Regions from separate parts of the Homo sapiens genome. Here regions 2 and 3 are each linked to region 1. The links are contacts of gene promoters, found by promoter capture Hi-C in human tissues and cell types (Jung and others, 2019). All regions are on one chromosome and are shown on one strand. Each heading gives the region's core, a stretch centred on a gene start or on the middle of the fragment in contact. The rest is flanking DNA. Distances are from core to core; before and after follow the strand shown. Region 1 holds the start of SEC24C (SEC24 homolog C, COPII component). Region 2 overlaps USP54 (ubiquitin specific peptidase 54). Region 3 has its middle 13 kb from the start of USP54.

Region 1 (3,946 bases), core at 458-2,957:
AGAACAATCTGCTTGTTTAGTAAAGCATGCTCAATGCCTAATATATAGTTTCCAGCACAGCCTAAAGTGCAAATTTTTCAGTGAATAAACCACTCTGTGCCTCAGAATAACTGATATTTACTGTCAATAATATGAGAACAAACACTTTTGTTCACTGCTCTATTTCCAGACCCAAGAACATGGCTTGGCACACAATGTCAGCGCTCAGTGGGTTCACCCTGCCTGCTGCCTTGACAAAGCTGATTTATCAAGACCAGGGAATTGCAATGGAGAAAGAGTAATTCACGCAGAGCCAGCTGTGTGGGAGACCAGAGTTTTATTATTACACAAATTAGTCTCCCTGAGCATTTGAGGATCAGAGTTCTTAAAGATAATTTGGCGAGTAGGAGCTTGGGAAGCGGGGAGTGCTGATTGGTCAGGTTGAAGACGGAATCACAGGGAGTCAAAGTGAGGTTTTCTTGCTGTTTTCTGTTCCTGGGTGGAATGGCAGAACTGATTGAGCCAGGTTACTGGTCTAGGTAGTCAGCTGATCCAATGAGTGCAGGGTCTGCAAAACATCTCAAGCACTAATCTTAGGTTTTACAATAGTTATGTTATTCCTAAAAGCAATTTGGGGAGGTTCAGACTCTTGGAGCGAGAGGCTGCATGTCCCCTAAACTGTAATTTGTAATCTTGTAGCTAATTTGTTAGTCCTGTAAAGACAGACTGGTCCCCAGGCAAGAAGGGGGTCTTTTCGGGAAGGGGCTATTATCAATTTTGTTTCAAACCATAAACTGAATTCCTCCCCAAAGTTAGTTCCACCTACACCCAGGAATGAATAAGGACAGCTTAAAGGTTAGAAGCAAGATGGAGTCGGTTAAGTCTGATTTCTTCCACTATCATAATTTCCTCAGTTGTAATTTTGCAAAGGCAGTTTCAACAGCAGTGCTCGAAAAATTATGAAATCAACAAATAGTACTGAAAAGTTCAAATGAAGTCATATATGAAAAAGAAATCCTAGCACTGTTAGCTATAATTACTTAGCCATTAAATGGGGTACTAATAATTACTGCAGGAACTATCTTTTCCAACAGAGCGCAGAGATCTTTTGGCTCTGATAAAGCTCTGCACCTAAACAAAGGCGCTGTATAAAAATGGTTAATAACAATTGACCTTTACTGAGTGCTTACTATGATGCCAAGCGGCCTATGTGGCCTAATTTCATCCTCTGGGCATTATTATTTCCATTTTACAAGCTGTAGAGCCAGACCTCAGACCCCCACATGCAGGTTGACAACAGTTGGTGCCCTTTACCACCACCACACGTTCCGCAAATCTCATAACCAGCAAACGCCATGGGTGAGAGCAACCTAGCGGACGGAAATCAACGGGGTCAGGGGTCACCAGGAAGTGACTACAAGACTCTAGCTCAGAGGTCACTAATACGTCACAGGCAGAGTGAAGGGGCATTATTAAAGATAGTTTGACAAATTCTTTTTAATCTCATTTCTGTTGGTGAGGCCATAAAGTGACTGGAACATCTGAAAAAAAATGTCAGGAGGGAAATACATACGACTCAGCAGAGGCGCACAGGCGGCGGCCATGATGGGAAGATGAAAGAGGCGCATGCGCGGCATCCGGGTCCCCGAAATGCAGACGTGGCAGAAGAAGTGGCCCGGCCCTAAAGCGTGGAGGAGGAACTTCCGGGGGTGACGGGACGGCCCCCTCGGAACCGGAAGTGGAGCCTGGGAGCCTTGACGTTAGGAACGAAGTCTAACCTGGATCTGGAGCCGGGTGAGGAGTGGCATCGGGAGGTTGGCGGGTAGGAAAGCAAAGGAGAGGTCAGGGTATTACTGGCCAGATTGGGGTCCGGTTTCAGAAAGAAGGGAGGAGCCTGGGGGCGGGGCCTGGGTAGAGACCCTCACCTCACGCATCCACCATCCAGGAGCAGGTCCTAGACCATCCCTTCGTCTCCCGGCCCAGATTCCGGCTCCTGCTTCCTGCCCCGAGCCTGTTAAAAGGTGCAAGACGTTTGGTCTCTGTGCTTAACAGAGCAGCCCCCTCTCTTAACGTGGCCCTAGAAGCCGACTTGGCTTCTCGGTTTTGATCCTCGGCTCTCCGAGGCTCCATGGCTTGACTACTTTCAGAGTTCTAGGAAGCTTGCCCCGCCCCCTTGGGTTGTCACCCTCGACTATCCACCCAGAATGGAGTCGAGACTTCAGTCTGACTCCAAGCTCTTGAATGTGTTTGAGGGGATTATTTTCTGGAGAAGAAGCTCCTTTCTTTACCCCTCCCCCCGGCTTTGGAAACATAAAGGGAGAGGACATATTTTAAACTTAGTGTCAGTGACCTACCTCTGTAAGGTTTAGGGTTTGGAAGAACAGCTATTGAGATAACTTTGAGTTTAAAGAGTTTTAGACCAGGATCAGCTCCTTTTCTATAGTCAAGGTGGCCCTTCTAGCAAAGGGGGAGAGGTCCATTGTTCCCTTTGCAGCAACTCTGAGTGCTCCTGCTTTCTGGGCCCCTTCTGTCTACAGGATAATTGGAATGATACAGCTGTTGAAAGTAGATGTGATGAGATAGTTTTCTTGGAAGGACCCTGTTTAGAAAAGGCCCTCTAATTCATCCCTGTGTTGATGAGCAAGATTGTAATAATTTTGATGGTGGCTGAGATTCATAACAATCGTAAGGGGAGCAGAAACAGGAGAGTTGGAGAAGTGCATTGGAATTTAGAATATTCATAGTCTTCTGCTTGAGGGATGAGGTGAATGATTTTTTTCCATGAAATCTAACTCTAACTTTGCCCCTGATTCTTGAACTGTTTCCTCAGATTATGTGAAGAAGTTTTGGTGCCTGTTCTGCACTTGGTTTTAATCTGTTACCTTGCTAGAGTTTTCAGGTGTCCTTTATTTTTTATTTTTTTGAAAGGGCGTCTTGCTCTATTGCTCAGGCTGGAGTGCAGTGGCACGATCTCGGCTTATTGCAATCTCCGCCTCCCGGGTTCAAGCGATTTCTCCTGCCTCAGCCTCCCAAGTAGCTGGGATTACAGGCGTGTGCCACCATGCCCGGCTAGTTTTTGTATTTTTAGTAGAGACTGGGTTTCACCGTGTTGGCCAGGCTGGTCATGAACTCCTGACCTCAAGTGATCTGCCCGACTTGGCCTTCCAAAGTGCTGGGATTACAGGCATGAGCCACTGTGCCTGGCCAACTTTTATTGATTTTAATGCTTCGGTTTTGGCCGGGCGTGGTGGCTCACACCTGTGATCCCAGCACTTTGGGAGGCCAAGGTGGGTGGATCACGAGGTCAGGAGATCGAGACCAGCCTGGCTAACAGGGTGAAAACCTGTCTCTACTAAAAATACAAAAACTAGCTGGGTGTGGTGGCACGCGCCTGTAATCCCAGCTACTCGGGAGGCTGAGGCAGGAGAATCGTTTGAACCCAGGAGGTGAAGGTTGCAGTGAGCCGAGATCGCGCCACTGCACTCCAGCCTGGCAACAGAGTGAGACTCCGTCTCAAAAAAAAAAAAAAAAAAAAAAAACCTTCAGTTTTAAGGTCCATACACTCTTTTGGTGGAAAGACTTGGGTTGGAGTATCATTTGTATTATGGCAGTTTAGCTAAAGAATGTCATTTCTGTAACTCAGCCTAAATTTTGTCATTGAGGGGGAAGGATTTTAGCAGATCTGTTTTAGATTTTTAGCCTGATTGATTTTAAATCAATTGTTCAGCACACTAGAGGGTACTCGATGTTTGCTGAATGAATGGATGCTAGAGTGAATGAATGGAAAGTGGGAACATTGTTTCTTTCACCTGTAACATCAAGGTAGTTCATCAGCCACAAGACTGTGTGACTAGACACTAGAAATCATACCACTGGGGAATGGAGGCTGCTGCTCCATTTCAGTGGATCTGTCTGAAGTTGAAATTTATACTATTTAGACAGTGACAAAGGGTGGATGGTCAGAATA
Region 2 (3,946 bases), core at 468-2,967, 160 kb before region 1:
CCAAACAAGATATACAAATGGTAAATAAGCACATGGAAAGATGTTCAACATTATTAGCCATGAGGGAAATGGAAATTAAAACTACACTATACACCTATTAGAATAGTTAAAAACAAAAACAAAAAAACTTTTTAAACCTGACAATAACAAGTGCCGATGAGGAATCAGAGCAACTGGAACTCTCCTACATTGTTTATGGAAATGCAAAACAGGCCAGGTGCAGTAGTTCACGCCTGTAATCCCAGCACTTTGGGAGGCTGAGGCGGGTGGATCACCTTGGATCAGGAGTTCAAGACCAGCCTGGCCAACATGGTGAAACCCTGTCTCTACTAAAAATACAAAAATTAGCCAATGGCAGGCACCTATAATCCCAGCTCCTAGGGGGCATTGAGGCAGGAGAATTGCTTGAAACCAGGAGGTGGACATTGCAGTGAGCCGAGATCAAGCCACTGCACTCCAACCTAGGCAACAGAGAAAGACCCCATTTCAAAAAAAAAAAAAAAAAGAAAGAAAAAGAAAAAGAAATGCAAAATGACACACTTGGCAGTTACTTCTAAACTTAAATATATAGTCATGAGCTGTATAACAATGTTTCAGTCAAGAAGAGACCGCATATACAATGGTAGTCCCATAAAATTATGGGATTATGGGACTTACCTTATTTTTACTGTAACTTTTCTATGTTTAGATATGTTTAGGTGCACATCTATTACTATTGTGTTACAATTGCTTATTTTATTTATTTATTTATTTATTTTTGAGATGGAGTTTCGCTCTTCTTGCCCAGGCTGGAGCGCAATGGTGTGATCTTGGCTCACTGCAACCTCTGCCTCCCGGGCTCAAGCGATTTTCCTGCCTCAGCCTCCCGAGTAGCTGGGATTACAGGCACGCACCATCACGCTCAGCTATTTTTTGTATTTTTGTATTTAGTAGAGATGGTGTTTCACCATGTTGACCATGCTGGTCTCCAACTCCTGACTTCAGGTGATCCTCCCGCCTCAGCCTCCCAAAGTGCTGGGATTACAGGTGTGAGCCACCGTGCCTGGCATCTATTATATTTAGTACAGTAACATCCTATACAGGTTTGTAGCATAGCAGCAGTAGGCTATATCGTATAGTCTAGGTGTGTAGTAGGCTATACCATCTAGGTTTATGCAAATACACTTAAATGATATTCACACAATGACAAAACCACCTAACACCACATTTCTCAGAACACATCCCTGTTGTTAAGCAAAACATGGCTGCACTTTTGCCATACTTTTACCTACCAATCCTACTCCTAGGTATTTTACCATAAAGAAATAAAAAATTGGGCTGGGCATGGTAGCTCATGCCTAAAATCCCAGAATGGGAGGACAAGGCTGGTGGATCACTTGAGGCCTGGAGTTCGAGGTGAGCGTGGGCAACATGGTAAACTTCTAGGAAAGTAAAAGCCAAAATTGGGATGGAAGCATGTCATCTTATTACGTATTTCCTTGTGTAACACAGTTACTAAGTTATATGTCCCACTGTTCCCAATCTGAAAACACTAGCCTCCTGTGGGTAAGCCAAAAACCTTTCCATGTATGAAATGATGGAAAACAGTGGGTCTCAACCTTTTTGCAGTGCCTCACATCCAGAGGCAGATTTACCAAGCCACTGAAACTTAAGCTTCAGGACTCTTTCTCTTGCACAGATTCTCAAGGCCCAATATCTCATTTTCTGTTTCAAAAAATATTTTCCTTAAAGGAGGCCCTCTGAATTGCATAAGCTTCAAGTGTCAGAGAATCTAAGTCTGCCCCATCCACATTACATAAATGGGGCTTTTATAGTATATGTCACTTGAGAAAATACATAATTCAAAAAGCTACTTTGAATTCAGTAATACTAATAAATTTGTATTTTATTAATCAAAGAAACATCTAATGTTATTCACTGTATAAAATTTGTTTGAACTAAATAGATCTAAATATAATATTTGGTCCACATTTGGATTTTGGATTCTTGTGCTCACAGCAAGTAACTCCACAGTCAACAGGGCTAAATTGAAAAGATCATTACAGATTAAGGTTGCCAGAATTAAAGACATACCTCTAGAAGCTGGTGACCTTTAGAAAAAAACACTTTCTCTGTATTAGTGAAATACAGAGAATGATTCTTTCACAAGTATACACAGTACAGCTTAATGTGCTACCATTTTTCTCAGGCCAAAGTAATAAACCAGGCTCCAGCTGCAGCCACCCTAATTATCCCCCACTGTATTCTTCACCAACAAAGTCAGCTTCTCTCAGCCTGTTTCGGAAAAAACCCAAAGCAGTCATTCAAAGGAACTGGCTTGTGCATAAAGGGAGATGAGGCCTGGAAGGACACTGGGCCAGGAGGAGCCTGGCGCCCTAAGAGACAGAGGGGTAAATGAGGCCCAGAGAGCTACAGGTTATTAGCATAAGAGATTCATTATGAGCAGAGCTAGAATGGAACTGAAATCAATGAAGACTAGATAGAATTTGTTCGTGCAAAGCCTGGGAACCCTTTGATAAAACCAGGTGTAAAGTGTGGGAAGTTTCTAAGGAGAAGGACTTTTTTTTTTTTTTGAGACAGAGTCTCGCTCTGTCACCCAGGCTGGAGTGCAGTGATGCGATCTTGGCTCACTGCAACAGCCACCTCCACCTCCCGGGTTCAAGCAATTCTCCTACCTCAGCCTCCCGAGTAGCTGGGATTACAGGCATGCGCCACCATGCCTGGCTATTTTTGTACTTTTAGTAGAGACAGAGTTTCGCCATGTTGGCCAGGCTGGTCTTGAACTCCTGGCCTCAAGTGATCCACCCACCTCGGCCTCCCAAAGTTGTGAACCATGCGGTGGCACAGGCGTGAACCACTGCGCCCATCCAAGGAGATGGACTCTTTAAGCTAATTGACTTCACAGTAACTAAAGTTCAATAAAGTCTTTAAGGAGACACTATTAATTGCATGTGTAGAGAACTCCATGACATTAATAAAAATGACAGTATCAAAGTATCTCCACTAAGGCATTTATTAACTACAAAGGAAAATATAGTAGTTTCACAATGGAGAAACCCAGCAGAAACTACCTTAACCAAGTGATCAAGGTCAAAATAACCAGTAATAATACATATTGACATCATGAATGCCATGATATGATGCACTGAAAAGGACACAATTATTTCTGTGGTATTCTTGCCTAAACCATAATCTCAGTCCAATCATCAGAAAAATATCAGACAAATCCAAATTAAGGAATATTTGACAAATAGCCCTCAAACTGATATTGATCAATACTCTACAAAAATGTCAAGGTTATAAAAGACAAAGAAAGACTAAGAAACTTTTACAGAATACAGAAGAGTAAGGAAGAAAAACACCTAAAATGCAATGTGAGATTCCAGATAGGATCCTGGAACAGAAAAAGAACAATGCAGCTTGTGCAAGATGGCGAAACCCTGTCTCTACAAAACAAAGAAAATTTTTTTTTGAAACAAAGTTTCTCACTTGTCACCCAGGCTGGAGTAAAATGGCGCGATCTTGGCTTACTGCAACCTCAGTCACCTGGGTTCAAGCAATCCTCCTGCCTCAGCCTCTGGAGTAGCTGGGATTACAGGCGCCTGCCACCACGCCCAGCTAATTTTTGTATTTTCAGTAAAGATGGGGTTTCACTATGTTGGCCAGGCTGGTCTCAAACTGCTGACCTCGGGTGATCCGCCCGCCTCAGCCTCCCAAAGTGCTGGGATTACAGGCGTGAGCCACTGCACCTGGCCAAAAAAAATTTTTTTTAATTAGCCAGGCTAATGCTTGCCTGTAGTCCCAGCTACTCAGAAGGGTGAGGCAGGAGGACTTTTTGAGCCTGGAAATTCAAGCCTGTAGTGAGCTATGACTGTGCCACTGCACTCCAGCCAGGGTGACAAAGCAAGACCCTGTCTTTAAAAATAAAAAAAAAATAAATTACAAT
Region 3 (3,946 bases), core at 969-3,468, 140 kb before region 1:
ACAGTCAGATCTTACCAGAATCATGCCTTCTTTCAAAACTCACAACCATTTTTCTGAACCAACAATGTAGCACCTCAACATCTGCCTTATTCCATTTGCCCTGTCTAAAAGTTAAATTAGCCAAGGCAGCTAAATGTACTGTATGTATTTAGAGCTAAAATGTTCCCAACTCAGGTTTGCCCTCAGTTTTACTACCTCTAAGAAAACCTTTATTCTGCCATAGCAGTCTATTTATTGGTAAAGTATACAGTAATCCTAATACAGAGATATGTAAACTTCACTTCATGAAAAAATAGTATAATAGCCGGGCACGGTGGCTCATGCCTGTAATCCCAGCACTTTGGGAGGCCGAGGTGGGCAGATCACGAGGTCAGGAGATCAAGACCATTCTGGCTAACACTGTGAAACCCCATCTCTACTAAAATTATAAAAAAATTAGCCGGGCGTGGTGGCGGGCATCTGTAGTCCCAGCTACTCAGGAGGCTGAGGCAGGAGAATGGCGTGAACCCAGGAGGCAGAGCTTGCAGTAAGCTGAGATCATGCTACTGCACTCCAGCCTGGGTAACAGAGCAAGACTCTGATTCAAAAAAAAAAAATAGTATAATAGTGGCCAGGCACTGTGGCTCATGCCTATAATCCCAGAACTTTGGGAGGCCAAGGCGGGTGGATCACCTGAGGTCAGGAGTTCAAGGCCAGCCTGACCAAGGTGAAAACCTGTCTCTAATAAAAATACAAAAATTAGCCAGGCGTGGTGGTGTGCGCCTGTAGTCCCAGCTACTTGGGAGACTGAGACAGGAGAACTGCTTGAACTCAGGAGGTGGAGGTTGCAGTGAGCTGAGATCGCACCACTGCACTCCAGCCTGGGCGACAGAGCAAGACTCTGTCTCAAAAAAAAAAAAAAAAAAAAAAAAATAGTATAATAGTGGTACAAAATATCTTCAATCAGAAGTACATGGGTTCCAAATAGTTATTCAACAAACATTTCTATACACCTATTATGTGCAAGTATCTCTGATAGGGTGCTGAACTGGGCTTTTGAAAACAGCATCACAAAAATCTAAGAAAGAACTCATCCCACCCTAATTAGCCTTCCCCAGGACCTTTGCAGTATTTTTACTTCAGTCATCACAAGCTTCTAATACGCTAACAGGCTGTCTAAGGAGTATAAACTATGTCAGAGAAAAATCAAATTCATTAGTGGTTACCTTTGGTGAGGGACTTGTAATCAATAAGGGGAAACTCGGGAGCAAACCAATTTACTAATATTTAATTTGCTGGATGGCGATTATAAAGATGTTTACTGTGTTATTCTTTTAAATGTCTTAGAAAATATATAATAAAATTTTTAAAAAACAGAACTGTGAATCAAAGGAAAAGAGAAAGGACAACCCATGAGATGGGAGAAAATATTTGTAAATCATTATTCTGATAAGGGGCTAATATCCACAATATATAAAGACCTCCTGCCATGTGCAGTGGCTCACATCTGTAATGCCAGCACTTTGGGTGGCCAAGGCGGGCAGATCATTTGAGGCCAGGAGTTTGAGACCAGCTTGGCCAACATGGCGAAACCCCATCTCTACTAAACCTGTCTCTATTAAGCCCTGTCTCTACTAAAAATGCAAAAAAGTTAATCAGGCGTGGTGGCGCACACCTGTAATGCCAGCTGCTTGGGAAGCTGAGGCAGGAGAAGCACTTTAACCCGGGAGGCAGAGGTGGCAGTGAGCCGAGATCACACCACTCAACTCCAGCCTGGGTGACAGAGTGAGACCCTGTCTCAAAAACAAAAACAACAAAAAAAAAAACTACAAGTCAACAACAACAAAATACAATTAAAAAATAAAGAACTTGAACAGACATTTCTCCAAAGAAGATACACCAATGGCCAATGAACACAGGAAAAGACACTCAAGTTCACTAATCATTAGGGAAAATAAATCAAAACCACAGTGAGATATCACCTCACACTTATTAGGATGGCTACTATTAAAAAAAAAGGTGGCCAGGCACAGTGGCTCACACCTGTAATCCCAGCACTTTGGAAGGACGAAGGGGGCAGATCATGAGGTCAGGAGTTCGAGACCAGCCTGGCCAATGTGGTGAAACCCTGTCTGTACTAAAAATACAAAAATTAGCCGTGTGTGGTGGTGCACACCTGTAGTCCCAGCTACTCAGGAGGCTGAGGCAGGAGAATCGCTTGAACCCAGGAGGCAGAGGTTGCAGTGAGCCGAGATCGCACCACTGACTCCAGCCTGGGCGACAGAGCGAGAGTCCATCTCAAAAAAACAAAACAAAACCACACACAAAACAAAAAAAACAGTGTTGGCAAGAACGTGGAGAAATTGGTATCCTTGTGCACATTGGTAAGAATGTCAAATGGTATAGCCAGTATGAAAATTAGTATGATAGTTCTTCAAAATTAAAATAAAATGACATATGATCCAGCAATTCTACTTTTGGTTACATATCCAAAAGAACTGAAAGTATGCTCTCAAAGAGATAACTTGCCAGGCACATTGGCTCACACACGTAATCCCAGTATTTTGGGAGGCTGAGGCAGGATTGCTTGATCTCATGAGTTTGAGACAAGGCTGGGCAACATAGTGAGACTCCATCTCCACAAATTTTTTTTTTTTTTTTGAGACAGAGTCTCGCATTGTTGCCGAGGCTGGAGTGCAGTGGTGCAATCTTGGCTCACTGCAAGCTCCGCCTCCCTGATTCACGCCATTCTCCTGCCTCAGCCTCCCAAGCAGCTGGTGTGTCCAGAGTTGGTTCCTTCCAGTGGGTTCTTGGTCTCGCTGACTTCAAGAACGAAGCCGCAGATCTTCACGATGAGTGTTACAGCTCTTAAAGGTGGCACAGACCCAAAGAGTGAGCAGCAGCAAGATTTATTTTGAAGAGCAAAAGAACAAAGCTTCCACAGTGTGGAAGGTGACCCAAGCGGGTTGCCGCTGCTAGCTGGGGTGGACAGCTTTTATTCCCATATTTGTCCCCACCCACGTCCTGCTGATCGGTCCATTTTACAGAGTACTGATTGGTCCATTTTTACAGAGTGCTGAATGATGCATTTACAATCCTTTAGCTAGACACGGAGTGCTGATTGGTGCATTTACAATCCTTTAGCTAGACACAGAGCACTGATTGCTGTGTTTACAATCCTCTAGCTAGACAGAAAAGTTCTCCAAGTCCCCACTCGACCCAGGAGGTCCAGCTGGCTTCACCTCTCACTGGGACTACAGGCCCCCGCCACCATGCCTGGCTAATTTTTTGTATTTTTAGTAGAGACGGGGTTTTACCATGTTAGGCAGGATGGTCTCCATCTCCTGACCTCATGATCCGCCCACCTTGGCCTCCCAAAGTGCTGGGATTACAGGTGTGAGCCACTGCACCTAGCCAATTTTTTTTTTAATTAGTTGGATGTGGTGGTGTGTGCCTGTAGTCTCAGCTACTTGGGAAGCTGAGGTGAAAGGATCACTTGAGCCCAGAATATCGATACTGCAGTGAGCCATGATTGTGCCACTGCATTCCAGCCTGGGCAACAGAGCAAGACTCTGTCTCAAAAAATAAATAAAGAGATAATTGTATACCCATGTTCATAGCAACATTATTGACAATAGACAACAGGTAGGAGCCACCTAAGAGAACAGGTAAGCAAAATGTGGTACATACATAGAACTGATTCAGCCTTAAAAAGGAAGGAAAATCTGATACATGCTACAACACAGATGAACTTGAGGACATTATACTACGTGAAATAAGCCAGTCACAACAGGACAAATACCAATGACTCCATTATATGAGGCATGAAGAATAGTCAAATTCATTGAAACAGAAAGTTGGATGGTGGTGGCTAGGCACTTTGGGGAAGGAGGAATCGGGGGGTGTTTAATGGATTTGGAGTCTCAGTTTTATGAGATGAAACAGGGTGGGCAGGTGTGGTAGCGCA

Evidence for each region. Contacts are between HindIII fragments. The study calls those that stand out against the background at their distance.
Region 2: a contact is called between a fragment that was not itself captured here and the fragment with the promoter of SEC24C in region 1, in 2 of the 25 tissues and cell types used here (IMR-90 fibroblasts and bladder).
Region 3: a fragment that was not itself captured here is called in contact with the fragment with the promoter of SEC24C in region 1 in 2 of the 25 tissues and cell types used here (hippocampus and mesenchymal stem cells).

What each region holds. Positions count from the first base shown.
Region 1 is chr10:73,742,665-73,746,610 of GRCh38, forward strand. SEC24C (SEC24 homolog C, COPII component) reads left to right here and starts at 1,708. Exons shown (of 23, transcript NM_198597.3): 1 at 1,708-1,773. LOC124902453 (a long non-coding RNA gene) reads right to left here and starts at 1,601. Exons shown (of 2, transcript XR_007062195.1): 1 at 1,553-1,601; 2 at 300-547. RefSeq lists enhancers at 1,050-2,249, 1,089-1,656, 1,327-1,756, 1,657-2,223. The HindIII fragment of the contact is 12,749 bases long and covers 1-3,946 here.
Region 2 is chr10:73,579,831-73,583,776 of GRCh38, forward strand. All of the region lies in intron 1 of USP54 (ubiquitin specific peptidase 54), which reads right to left. Among named protein-coding and RNA genes, the nearest start is that of USP54, 9.5 kb to the right of the region's middle. The HindIII fragment of the contact is 5,223 bases long and covers 1-3,946 here.
Region 3 is chr10:73,601,969-73,605,914 of GRCh38, forward strand. It overlaps a transcript of USP54 not described here. Among named protein-coding and RNA genes, the nearest start is that of USP54, 13 kb to the left of the region's middle. The HindIII fragment of the contact is 5,507 bases long and covers 1-3,946 here.